2 separate regions of the Homo sapiens genome follow, and region 2 is linked to region 1. The links are contacts of gene promoters, found by promoter capture Hi-C in human tissues and cell types (Jung and others, 2019). All regions are on one chromosome and are shown on one strand. Each heading gives the region's core, a stretch centred on a gene start or on the middle of the fragment in contact. The rest is flanking DNA. Distances are from core to core; before and after follow the strand shown.

What was found. The method cuts DNA at HindIII sites, captures the fragments that hold promoters and counts their contacts. A contact is called where the count stands out against the background at its distance.
Region 2: a fragment that was not itself captured here is called in contact with the fragment with the promoter of KRT82 in region 1 in 2 of the 25 tissues and cell types used here (aorta and thymus).

Annotation. Positions count from the first base shown.
Region 1 is chr12:52,403,816-52,410,854 of GRCh38, reverse strand. KRT82 (keratin 82) reads left to right here and starts at 4,520. Exons shown (of 9, transcript NM_033033.4): 1 at 4,520-4,988; 2 at 6,946-7,039. The coding sequence starts at 4,578. The HindIII fragment of the contact is 10,212 bases long and covers 1-6,299 here.
Region 2 is chr12:52,532,584-52,539,622 of GRCh38, reverse strand. No RefSeq gene overlaps it. Among named protein-coding and RNA genes, the nearest start is that of KRT5, 16 kb to the right of the region's middle. The HindIII fragment of the contact is 6,747 bases long and covers 1-6,250 here.

The DNA of each region.
Region 1 (7,039 bases), core at 3,271-5,770:
CTATTTTAATTCTCCTGCATTAGGAACTGCCCTGTGAGATTCCTGCAAAATAATCCTCCAGGCTCAGAACTATTCCTCTTCTCTTGTGCCAGACACATCTCTCTTCTGGAAAGTTTTCCTTCCTTTTTTTTTTTTTTTTTTTTTCTGTTGACTCTTTTTTTTTTTTTTTTTATTGATCATTCTTGGGTGTTTCTCGCAGAGGGGGATTTGGCAGGGTCACAGGACAATAGTGGAGGGAAGGTCAGCAGATAAGTGAACAAAGGTCTCTGGTTTTCCTAGGCAGAGGACCCTGCGGCCTTCCACAGTGTTTGTGTCCCTGGGTACTTGAGATTAGGGAGTGGTGATGACTCTTAACGAGCATGCTGCCTTCAAGCATCTGTTTAACAAAGCACATCTTGCACCGCCCTTAATCCATTCAACCCTGAGTGGACACAGCACATGTTTCAGAGAGCACAGGGTTGGGGGTAAGGTCACAGATCAACAGGATCCCAAGGCAGAAGAATTTTTCTTAGTACAGAACAAAATGAAAAGTCTCCCATGTCTACCTCTTTCTACACAGACATGGCAACCATCCGATTTCTCAATCTTTTCCCCACCTTTCCCCCCTTTCTATTCCACAAAACCGCCATTGTCATCATGGACCGTTCTCAATGAGCTGTTGAGTACACCTCCCAGACGGGGTGGTGGCCGGGCAGAGGGGCTCCTCACTTCCCAGTAGGGGCGGCCGGGCAGAGGCGCCCCTCACCTCCCGGATGGGGCAGCTGGCCGGGCAGAGGGGCTCCTCTCTTCCCAGTAGGGGCGGCCGGGCAGAGGCGCCCCTCACCTCCCGGATGGGGCGGCTGGCCGGGCGGGGGGCTGACCCCCCCCACCTCCCTCCCGGATGGGGCGGCTGGCCGGGCGGGGGGCTGACCCCCCCACCTCCCTCCCGGACGGGGCGGCTGGCCAGGCAGAGGGGCTCCTCACTTCCCAGTAGGGGCAGCCGGGCAGAGGCGCCCCTCACCTCCCAGACGGGGTGGCTGCCGGGCGGAGACGCTCCTCACTTCCCAGACGGAGTGGCTGCCGGGCAGAGGGGCTCCTCACTTCTCAGACGGGGCGGTTGCCAGGCAGAGGGTCTCCTCACTTCTCAGACGGGGCGGCCAGACAGAGACGCTCCTCACATCCCAGACGGGGCGGCAGGGCAGAGGCGCTCCCCACATCTCAGACGATGGGCGGCCTGGCAGAGACGCTCCTCACTTCCTAGATGGGATGTCGGCCGGGCAGAGACGCTCCTCACTTTCCAGACTGGACAGCCAGGCAGAGAGGCTCCTCACATCCCAGACGATGGGCGGCCAGGCAGAGACACTCCTCACTTCCCAGACGGGGTGGCGGCCGGGCAGAGGCTGCAATCTCGACACTTTGGGAGGCCAAGGCAGGCGGCTGGGAGGTGGAGGTTGTAGCGAGCCGAGATCACGCCACTGCACTCCAGCCTGGGCACCATTGAGCACTGAGTGAACGCGACTCTGCCTGCCATCCCGGCACCTCGGGAGGCCAAGGCTGGTGGATCACTCGCGGTTAGGAGCTGGAGACCAGCCCGGCCAACACAGCGAAACCCCGTCTCCACCAAAAAAATACGAAAACCAGTCAGGCGTGGCGGCGCGTGCCTGCAATCGCAGGCACTCGGCAGGCTGAGGCAGGAGAATCAGGCAGGGAGGTTGCAGTGAGCCGAGATGGCAGCAGTACAGTCCAGCTTTGGCTCGGCATCAGGGGGAGACCGTGGAAAGAGAGGGAGAGGGAGACCATGAGGAGAGGGAGAGGGAGAGGGAGAGGGAGAGGGAGAGGGAGAGGGAGGAGGGAGAGGGAGAGGAGGGAGAGGGAGAGGAGGGAGAGGGAGAGGAGGGAGCCTCCTTCCTTTTAACCTTGCCCTTTTCACCTTTCACTCTCACTTCTTTTTCTACTTACCTTTCCCCACTGCCACCCCACGCACCTCCTCTCTCTCAACCCCCCTTTCTCCTCCTGTCCTATATTTTTCACCCTTCTTCCTCTCCCACTCTTTCCATTTGACAATCTATTAATATTGCCTGCTCTTTCTCTTCTGACCTCCCTTTTTCTATCTCCCTCCCTCGGAACGTCTCTGTTCCGTGTCTTCAGCCATGGCTGACACTGAAGCTCCTTAAGCCAGGACACCACATTCTCTACCCCACAGCAGAGGCCCAGGATAGTGCACTCAGAGGAGAGGTGGCTCTTTCTTTGGTGTTTTTCCTCGCTCTGAGGGGACACATTGCTGAGCCCCAGAAGGACACAGGAGGAGGCTGGCGTGGAATTGGGAGTGAGGTAGGCATGGGATTCTTCTTTGAGGCCTTCAAAGGGTGGTTTCTGTATTTAATTTGAAGAGTCATCAACCCCCAAGACACCTGCCAAAACGCATTCCAAAGGCAGGTAGAGATTGTCTACTGCACTGCCAAAGTGAAGACGGAGTTCACTGCTCCAGAAGAAAATCACACCCTTCTCAACTGCCTGCTCCCTTATGCCCCCTAGTTCCTGAACCCACTTTCATAAAATGCCGCCAAACTGTCTAGGTCTTGACTGAGTCCTGCCCTAGCTCACACTCAGAGGGCAACCCTGGACTCGGGGGGCTCAGGAAACAGGTGCCTCCCTCCCACAATGAATCCAAGGAACCGCCCTGCCCTCTGCTCCTGAGCTCTGGTTCTGGACTCCAGGAGCCCAACATGCTCACTGAGGCCCTCCTCTGGCCTGGACATGGCGGGGAGACTCTGCTGTGTCCACTGCTGCAGTGACCCCTGCCCTCCGGTGCAGCTCACTGTCTCCCTCACCCCCTCTAGTGGGAATCTGCTCTCTGGTGGGGCCTCTGAGTGTCTCCATCAACATTCACACCATCCTGGGCCCCCTCTGTGGACTCAGTCCAGGGAAGAGTGTGGTCTTCTTCCCCTGACACCCTGCAATTGGACCCCCTCACCCAACCTTCTGCCTCCCATTGTGGCCTGTGGTCTCGCCTTGCACCCCTCCTCCTCCACTACTCTGGGGCCCACAGTCAGGACTATGAAAAAGGGGACAGGGAGTGTGAAATGTCACAATGAGACTGAGAATTTCTGAGGCTCAGGAAACCTTTGAGTTCCAGTCTCCTAATCCACAGGTTGGAAGGCTGACGGACAGGGACAACAGAACATTTATGGGCAGCAGATTCCCAATTCCTCACCTGGGCTTCCCTGCTGTGGAGCAGCATGGCAGGGTGAAGTCAAAAGGAACAGGATGGACTCCCAGCTGATCAGCCACAAGCTGTGTGACTTGGGGATGTTGCTCTTAACTGCTGTGCTTCCCATTTTCCTGTCTGTGGCATAGTAACTATCTCATTGTGTGGTCAGAGAATTAAATGAGACCATGGATGTAAAGAGTACGGAGTGGTCCCAACACACAATAAATGCCCAATAAATGTTTATTATTGTTATTATTATTATTATTGGTTTGATTTTGACCTGGTGATAAGTCTCAGTGTGGAAGGGAAAGGCCATTCGGCCATGGCAAAAGTTTCACTGATGAAATTGATGGAAAAGAGGAGGAAAGAGAGTGAGGCGGGGGCTTCAGACATCTCCAAAGAGCTGTGTCTGCGACCTGAGCTGGAAAGAAAACCTGAATCCCACCTCCACCTGAAAATTCCCAAGGGCAACAACTCTCCCCAGAGACATCCTCAGGCCAAAGCTGGCTCTGTTGACCTCAGGGACACTCAGGCTGGGTTGGGCAAAAGGGGAAAGGAACAGCCACATGGAAGCCGAGACCTGATGCTGAAATCATGCCTTCTGGGGGCCCCAGAAGTGTTGAGGAGAGCGTCCCTTCCTCTGCCCTTCTCAAGCACCAGGCCTCTCCTCTTGAGTTCCCTGCAGCCTTTGTGGACTGATGGGCCCTGTAGAAAAGTGTCTATGCCTGGAGTCTGTCTACCTTCAAGACCCTCATGGGACAGTGGGTCACTGAGCCAGAGCTCAGGAGGGTTAAGGTCCGGCCTGTTGTAGGGAGGATTCTCCCACCCCAAAAGCCTTCCTCCTGGGAACTTCCTGACTCACCTAGGAGCCCACAGAGGGCACTTGGGTTGAGGATCTGCAAAAAAGCCTAGGAGCAGCCTTGGGGAAAGAGCCAGAGCATCTTTAAGCATATGGGACTTGCCCTCTAATCCCAGAGAAGCCAGGGTGTATAATTCATGGCACGCCTCCCCTCCTATGAAATGACGTAGTCCCAACTCTCCCTTTCCTTGAGGCTGAGCCACTGGATACATGGAACATATCTGTCTGGTTGGCCCCTTTCATCACCCCCACAATCAAGGAAGGAGGACAAATAGGATTTTTATAGGGCCCACCAGCACTGACCATTGGCCCCTTCTCTTTGCTCTTCGCTACCCTAATTATCCACCTTGCTACTTAGCTCTGCCAATATCCCAAGCTCATAAACCTAGTTTAATGGTGATTTGGGGTTTGACACATCTCAGTCCTCCATCCCCCTACCAGATAAAAGGGGGGAAGCTGAGCCTGACTTGATCATCCTGCCCCGGTTCTTTCCTCCAGGGCCGCATTTCTCTGCCTCTCTCTCCTGCCATGTCGTACCACTCTTTCCAGCCAGGCTCCAGGTGTGGCAGTCAGAGTTTCAGCTCATACTCGGCTGTCATGCCCCGGATGGTCACCCACTATGCAGTGAGCAAGGGGCCATGCCGGCCCGGGGGTGGTAGGGGCCTCCGAGCTCTGGGCTGCCTTGGCTCACGGAGCCTGTGCAACGTGGGCTTTGGGAGGCCCCGGGTAGCCTCCAGGTGTGGAGGTACCCTGCCTGGCTTCGGGTACCGACTGGGAGCCACCTGTGGGCCTTCTGCCTGCATCACCCCTGTCACCATCAATGAGAGCCTGCTGGTCCCACTGGCACTGGAGATAGACCCGACTGTGCAGAGGGTAAAGAGGGATGAGAAGGAGCAGATCAAGTGCCTCAACAACCGTTTCGCATCTTTCATCAACAAGGTAAGGGGGCAGTGGCCCAGGGCCGTGAGAGGACCCACTGCAGATCTGGGGTCTGGTCTTGTTCTGGTCCAAGGGAACCAGGAGGAGACTGACATTGAGGAGGCCTCAGTTTATCCAGTGGCCTCCCTCACATTCCACGACCACCAGCCTTTGAAAGCCAGTTAGATCAGATTCTGCACTAAACATTTCTGCTTCCTTGTCTTTCTTAAAATATATCATCTTTCTCTGAATATTATCTGACAAAATCACCAATCACCAAGGTTGCCTGAGGTCAGACTATAAGAGGAACTTCCAAAGCAATACTGAAAGGAATGACCAGAGAGGCAGAGAAATGCCCTTCCTGATGAGGCTTTAACAGTAGAACCGCCTTCTGTGTGCCTGAGCTGTGTCACAACTCTTGAGCCTGAAGGTGAGGATGGACACTGTGACCTCAGAGTTTCCAATCATTTTAGGCCTGGGATGAGAGGAAAGTGGACAGTCAGAGCTAGAGGCACAGGGTGACGGTCACAAAAGTCTTACATCTGTCATCTCCAGAGCCACTGAAAGGCTGCTAGGAAGGCATGCCTTCAGAAGGTGCTGAACTGAATCTGCACCCACTGCAGGAACAGTGCAGATTCCCACATCTACAGCACAGCACCCACTGCAGGAACAGTGCAGATTCCCACATCTACAGTATAGCACCCACTGCAGGAAGAGCGCAGATTCCCACATCTACAGTACAGCACCCACTGCAGGAAAAGATGTGGCATGCCTTCTGAAGGTGCTGAAGGACTCAACAGCCTCTGGGTCCATCCCACGCCCCAGGGAGGCTCTTGGGGTGAGGATTCATTCCACAGTTTGAGCTGGTGTTTCTGGTGACCGTAAGGTTTAGGGGCAAGAGTCCTGGGCCAGAGGTCAGGAGCCCTGGCCACTGGCATTGACTCTACTCCTACACCCGGAATCCCCGGGCAAGCCATTCACCTCTTGGCCTTTGGACGGTGCTGCCCAGTGAGGAAGGGGAGGAATGACGGTGGGAGATTAGAGGAGGTAATATATGCCAAAGTGCTTCACAGAGGAACTTGTTTAGTCAAACTTACAGTTTTATTTCTAAAGCTTATTAAGTTCTGGCTATAAACTTATTCCAAAAACATGGGCCCGAATTAGCAACAACATCACACCACCTTCTGTTAGGCTGGGAGCCTCCTGTTGATGCAGCCACTGACCAGAAGTAGGGCAATGATACTTCTGTAGTTTTCTTGACAGACAATGCACGATGTGGAAAATTCCAGAGCAAGGGCTGGAGACCACGTTCCCTTAGTCAATGTCCAGCCGGGTGGCCATGGTGAACTTACTCAACTCCTAATCTCAGTTTCCACTTTACGAAAAGGGAGGAGGAGGCCAGCAGCTGTCCACATTACTAGGACCTGGACTTTTTTCAGATACAGCCATGTAGGATGCAGCACAGTAGGTGAAAAGAGCTTAGAGTCCCTTGATCCGTCTTTTCCCCTGAGTGTCCCTAGGCTGTCATAAAGGAAAGCCTCGACCCCCAAGCTTCACATCCTCTGACACTAGTATGAAGTTAACAGAGTCCCTTCCCATACACTGTCCCAGGTAGGAGCTTTGGGAAGCAAAGTGAGGCTTGAAGGGACAGGATGTCTTGGTCAAGGTCACGAGGATAGAGAGAGGCAGGCAGGCAGTGCTGAAACAGGACTTGCCTAGGCCTCTTGGAGAAGTACCATCCACTACAACACGCAACCTCTGAGTGGAAAGTAGGGGTCCACTAGGCTCTCCCAGGCAGGGGAGACACAGACACACATGCCCTCAGATGCCAGTCTATGCAGAGACCCTGATTTTTGCAAATTCTAGTGCACTGGTAGCCATGTGTTGGGAGACAGGGCAGAAACTCATTCCATTGCCCTCTCTAAGTCATGGTCCCCAGGATCTCTGCTGCCTGGTGATATTCCATTCTTGGCTGCAGGTCCGTTTCCTGGAGCAGAAGAACAAGCTGCTGGAGACCAAGTGGAACTTCATGCAGCAGCAGAGGTGCTGCCAGACCAACATCGAGCCCATCT
Region 2 (7,039 bases), core at 1,628-4,127, 130 kb before region 1:
GGCCTTCCCAGGCCTGCAGCCTGACCTGAGGCTCACTCTCTAATGTCCCTTCATTCAGTTGTGGCCTTCTCAAAGTGCCAGCTCAAGGAGAGATGCATTTTCAAGCCCAGGTTTCTGCCATAACTATTTCTTATTCCCTCCATACTTGACTAGAGTACAATTGCAGTCCACAGCTGGTGCTAGTGAAAGCGGTAGAGAAATCCACTGATGATCCAGAAATGAAGGCTACACCATAACACAGAAACTTCAGGATCACAGCTGAGCCAAATGGGAACCAGCTGCCCTCACTCGATCCAGATTTTTTTGTTTGTTTGTTTGAATAGATCTTTAATGGTCTTGGAATCCAGCCAAATGGGAAGAGAGGGGCCTCTGAGATGCCATGGAAAATCCTTGAAGCAAATAAAAGGTGGATGAATCATAACACTGGACTGCTTTAGGGATGGCTGGGACAAGGGAGGGTAGAGGGAAGATTCTTTCTCGATTTTCTCCCCAAAGCAAACAAAGTGAGTACCAGGGAAAGGGGCCCCATGCAGGCTGAGGCAGGTTTGGAAAGAGAGTTGGTGGGGACACTGCACCCTCTGAAGCCAGAAAGGCTGGGGCATTCCCTCTGCACATCCTCCCAGGCAAGTCCAGCTCAGCCTCAGGGCTCTCTGGATCTGAGACCCCTTAATCCATGGTCAGGGGTAATGGAAGGCATTTTCCCAACTCAGATGGAGGTGGCAGGGCCACACCTTTGAGCATCCTTCATGTTTGTGAGCAGCGTAGGTGTCCCTGGGTAAATGCTTTGGCTGGAAGAGATGTGCAGTGAGGGAGCCCTGAGCCAGGCCCAGAGCCTCCAGACCACTACAGTCAGACGTTAGGAGTCAACCATCATCAAACAGCATTTCACATCAGCTGCTGGGGCTGATTTGGAGCTCCAGAGAGCCAGCCTTTTATTTTGCCAAAATTGGACATTAAGAGTGCAACAATCACCACCCACTACCGTCATCATTTCATAAAAGAAAAGGACAATTTAACAGTAGGAAGGACATTCTCTCAGACTAAGCTCAGCCCTTTAGATAAAGTCAAGCTAGCCCCATGAAAGATTTACTGCATTGCACTTACTTTTCTCAATTGCTTCAGACTACTGAGAAACACATCAAACCTGCGCCCTGTCTCAGCATTTCCCATGTCACCTCTTTGTACCTCAGGGTCCTCATCTACACGATGGGAATATGACCACACTGTCAACTGCACAATGTTCAGAAAATCACCAAAAGGGATGGAGAAGGGGAAGCACACAGAAAAATACCAGGATCTCCTGCCTGTCAGGAACAAGGATGGCGATGATGAGGGTGACGACGATCCTGCAGGAGCGATGCCTTGCAGGGGTGAGGGGCCTGGCTCTGGGCCCAGCCTCCAGCAGGGCTGCCACACTTAGCAAGTTCTTTAATCTTCTTGAGTCTCTTTTCGCTTCTGTAGAAGTGAGGATAATAATAACAATAACAGTAATAATAATAATAATAACTACTTCTTTGCATCTTTTTGTTTGAGACATAAAATCCCAGGCCCATAGTAAGAGCTCAATAAATGTTAGCTATAGCAATAAATGATTACTATTATTAGATACAATAATACCTACCCTAGAAACTGTGGGTAATTTTTAGGGGTTCACTGGGGACTCTAGTCCTAAATCGATTTCCCAGCAGCGGGAGTACTTGTCTCCTCCTCCTTCTTCTTGTGCCCTAGACCAGTGTATTTTAGACCACGTTTCTGAAATGTTGCCTCCTCCAGGGGACTAATCAGAGCTTCAGTCTCTAACTTCCTTCTCCATCTCACCCCACTGCAGTGGAACTTTCCCCTGTACTTCTCCCTGAACCGAACTCTTGGAGTCTCCTTCTAAGGCCATGCCTTGCTCCAAAGTTCATGATTTACTTTAAACAGGATTGCTACTTCTACCCCCAAGTACCCCCTCCTCGACCTTTGGAAGTCTTGATCAATGTGTCCCCTGCATCCTGGAGGTTCCTGGTGGGCACAGCTTGGGTGGTGTAGTGTTTTTTGTGTGTGGTGTTCATGGCAGAATTGCTGCAGGCTGCACAAGGTGTTTGCGATGATGGCGATTACAAGAAACCTGCAGAGCCGCAGAGCTGTGTCCCCAGTGCTCTGGACACCATTCACTGGCACAGACTCCCCTCTCTGTGATGTAGGCACCCCTTGGTCTTGCTTCAGAGCTATCTTTGATGGGGTTAGAAAAGACTAGCAGACAGGTGGGAGACCTAGTCACCACCTGACATCCTGAGTGCCAGGCCTGTCAGCAGCCAGTACCGAAGGGCAAGAGCAGGCAGGCAGGGCTGGGGCTGAGTGCCAACCTGGGGAATGACATCTCTGTGGCACTGTGGTTGACTATCCAGGGCACGTGTCTACAAACTGGGATGGGAGGCAGGACAGTGGAGTGGAGAATAGACTGAAAAAGATGTCCAAAGTGGAAAAAAGGGAGGAGGGGAAGAGGAGGCGCAGGGACCTCTAGTCCACACCTCTGAGACTCTGCGGATTTGGAAAATGAAGGAAGGGAAGGGACAGGCTGTCAGTGCCACAAAGGACAGGGCCTGGGCAATGGGCTCACAGGGTAGCGAGAGGGGTGGAGACAGTGGTGTGCTGGTAACTAAAGTGTGCTGCTGAGCCTAACAACCAGCTCTCTGAAAAAATGCATAGATGTGTATATATACAAATATATATACATGTAAATGTGTATTTATGTTTATGTTATAAGTTTACTAGAAGTTTTACTGCTATATTAGATATGTAGCATACAGTTTACAAATAATAATAAAATCTACAAGTCTTTTTTTTTTTTTTTTTTTGAGACGGAGGCTCGCTCTGTTGCCCAGGATGGAGTGCAGTGGCACCATCTCGGCTCACTGCAAGCTCCGCCTCCCAGGTTCAAGCCATTCTCCTGCCTCAGCCTCCCAAGTAGCTGGGACTATAGGCGCCCGCCACCACGCCCGGCTAATTTTTTGTATTTTTATTAGAGATGGGGTTTCACCATGTTAGCCAGGATGGTCTCGATCTCCTGACCTCATGATCCACCCACCTCGGCCTCCCAAAGTGCTGGGATTACAGGCGTGAGCCACCGTGCCCAGCCCTACAATACTCTTTATTATAAACTTGATACAGCCAAGTGACCCTCATGGAATGCTTTCAGTTGGCTTTTGACAAACTCTTATGCCCATGGCTGGCCAGTGGCTGCAACCAACAAACCAGCATAGCCCCCACATGAATGTTAGCTCCCATGTTCATCTTCACAGTTAAGATGAACGTGAAATGATGAAGATGAATGTTGGAACTTACTTGCTCCTCAATGATGTGAGTGACTTTTTGGCTGAATCAGATAATGGGTTTTAAATACCGGGATATTATTTTGTATTTTTTGGCTATTCATAATGTTATTATCAATGGGCACAACATACTTTTAATTTTAATCTACGTTATAAACATTTTCCCCATCACTTTATTAAATTTAGACCAGAGCTGTCCAGTAGAAATGCAATGAAAGCCACAGATATTATTTAAAATCTGCTAGTAGCCACATTTAAGGAATAGACTAAATTAATTCTAATATATTTGACATAATATATAGAAAACACTATTCTTTCAATAGATAATCAATATAAACATTTTTGATGATATATTTTACATTCTTTTCTTCCATTCTGAATCTTCAATATCCAGTACATATGACATATCTAAGCTTGGACTAGCCACATTTCAAGTGCTCAGTTAGCCACATGGAACTAGTGGCAGCTGTGTGAGGCTGTGCAGCTCCAGACAATCAACCAAACAATAAACCAAGCTCTGATTTGTAGTGCTTGCCAGTTCGCTTGGGGTAAATTCTCCCACAAAGGTGATTTCAAGCTACCAACATGATGTCACTGATTACAGGCTGGAAAGAGATGTGAACACCATGGTAGGGGATTTCTGCATGTAGATTCAATAAATGTCAACAACCACAAGAACTTTGATAATATATCAAAGTAAAGTATAATAAAATTAGAAAATGATGAGTTTTAAACATTTCTTCCCTTTGTTTTTAATGCAATGTATTTAACTATAATTTTACATAATTTAATTTGAATTATGGCTATGTTTAATAACAGCTCACAACGTTCTTCAAAATTTAACAATCGGCTTTTGCAAACCCTTTCAGTTTGCTCTACCACAACAGTAGTCAGATATAAGAACACAGGGAGGTCTTCAAATGAGACGTGGTTTTTTTGCAACGATCAAAATGGGATTTATGTTTAGTGAAACTTAACAGACACTTATTGAGGTACCATCTGGTACAGGGATGATGCTGGAGGGTTGGCGCAGGACAGGGTGGCTACAGAATGAACACAATGTGATTCTGGCCCTCAGAGGTATTAAGGTTCTAAGGAAGCACAGATGATCACAGTAATAATAATATGTGCAAGTTAAAATGGTGGCCCTGAGGGTTGTGGATCCCAGAGGTGGCAAGGTTAAAGGGCATTTGGGTTCCAGACCTGGCTCTGTCTCTAAGTCACTGCCTCATTTTGCCCTCAGTTTCCCTTCCTGTTAAATGAGGGGGTTGAGCTGGGTGAACCCCCAGGTTTCCGTCCAGCCTCCAAGGTGGGTCTTCCAATGTAGCGACTGAAGAGTGTGGCTTTCTGGATTAAAGGGCATTGGAGCTGGGCTTTAAAACACTGCCTTCTCCAATGTCAGGAACTGTGAAGGTAAAAGGGGCAGGAACATGAAAGAAGCTTTGGGAAGATGAGATCCCTGGGCTGAATGCAAAATAAAGAAGGAAGAGTAAAGGGGGTAAGTACCAGAGTTTTAGGGGTAGGAGTGATGTTAGAGTTTATCTAGAGATCTACTAGGCCAGGGCTTCAGATTACAGATGGGGAACCTGAGGCTTAGAGGCGTTAAATAACTTGCCCCAGGTGACGCAGCCAGAAGGTGGCAGAATCAGGTCCACGTGACTCTATACAGATAAGGATATATGCAATGTGTGCTTTTTATGCCCAAACTCACACCTTCGGGTGGCTATTCCATATAACAACTTATTTCTAAATGTTTGGGTCTAGGATAATCATGGATGAAACCAAAACTAAAATTTTTCTTCTTATATGAAGACGGTTGGGTCCAGGATGCTCAAAAGGATGTCCTGAGAAAATGGCATGGAATATGGGGCAAATTCTATGAAAATGCGTAAGGAAAATGTAAAAACTGATAAAGCTGATAAAGCAATTTGCTTACATGAGCCCCTGAGAAAGGTCGAGGTGTTTGGGTACCTCAGCTTTGCATCTGCTGTCAGGAGGCCCCAGCAGCTTCCTCTTTACATCTGAACGCTTAGCCCAGCTGGCCTGGTGTCAAGCAGAACACAGTCAGCAGGCCGGGAGCCCAGGCAGGCCTATCCCCTCCATGCTCCGAGACAAAGCCTCCACTTCTAAAATGTCTCCAGGCCAGTGGACCAAGAGGTTTGAGTCTCCCACAGACGGACCCAGTAGGCCAGGCTCAGTTGGAGATTTTAATTTTGGACTCGTCAGAGTTCCAGAACTCTGGAATGTGGCAGCATGGAGAGAATTCCCAGCTCCTGGCCTGCAGCCTGCCCCTTTCTCTTCCTACCCCTGGCTTTGCTCCCTTGCCTACACAACCACAATCTGCAGACAGCCTAGAGGTGTGCCCAGCACCCGGCAGTCTGCTCTCCAGAGGACAGGCCTGAGCGTGGGCTGGGAGTCACTGGGGAGGGAATGCTGGGGTTTTAGGTAGCTGAGCGGGTCTAGAAGGGGAGTGTGGACCCCATGAGCATGGCCCTTGGCCCTGCAGACTCCTCACTCTGTGGAACAAGGGCAACTAGAAGGCCCAAGGCAGGGGCCCCTCTTGACCAAGTCTAAGGGGACTTTGGAGACAGCACCCACACTTGGGACACCAACTGGGGGAGAACCAGGTACCCAGGCCAAGCTTCCGGTGTCAAAAGACAGGAGGACGGGATAGGAAAGGAGAGGTGCAGAGCCCGTCAAGGAAATGGGAATGGGAAATAAACACAGAGATAAACCTTGAAGGTGGGAATAGTGATCATCGCTATAGTTAATTGAGGGTTTCCTGTGTGTCAGGCCATGAGCTACGTTCTTTAAGGATATTTCTTATTAAATCCTCAACAATCCTATTAGCAACCCCCCCCCAACCAATTTATATTAATAAGGAAATTTAGGGCCAGAGGGACTATGAAACATGCTTAGGGCCACCAGGGTGAAGTGGCCGGCCATATTCTCTCCTACCTAGGGAGAGAGAAATTTTACTGTCTCCCTCTTTTGTCCCAGATCCAGCACCTGAAGACACAGGTCCAAGTCCTGGAGTAGCAAGGGTCCTTAGGGCTTCCAGAGAGGAGGGGTACTCTGTGTGGGGCCAACAGTAAGGGTCTGGGAGGGAAAAGGATGAAGCTGGAGTCAGCCTTTGGGACTGGGCAGGAACTGCAGAGACGGTCAAAACCAAGCAAGGGGCCCAGTGACCCAGTGACCCAGGGAGAAGCCAAGTGCGTTAGGGTGAGAAGCTTTTCAGGTATTTGTCCCAGGTCTTGCCAGAGGGCGGCAGGAGTGGTTCCCAGCATCTCTCTGTAGGCAGCACCTATCACAGGTGGGGTGGGGTAGGGTGGGGCACCACAGCCTTCTCCCCCTTCCCCAACACACCCAGGCTGAACCTCCCACAGCCCCTGTTGTTTTGACGGCCTGGTCAGAAGCTGCAGTTTGCCACACTCACCCTCTCACCCTCTAAGGACTGCAGTACAACTTTCCAAGTGCTCATTTGTGGTTTCCAGCCCCTCGATGGTGTCATTACAGAGATTCCCCCACGCCACCCTGACTCTGCATCAGGGGTGTGTGTTCATCCAGGCACACAGCTGGACACTCAGAGGTTTAAGGCGGCCCAGGCATGAACCCTGGCCCCACAACCCAGCCCTCTCCTAAGTGTTGCAGGAGAGGTTCCTTGTGTGGTGGGAGAAGAGGCCTGAGATCAGAGAGCAAGGGAAAGGCTTGGCCTTCCAGGCTGG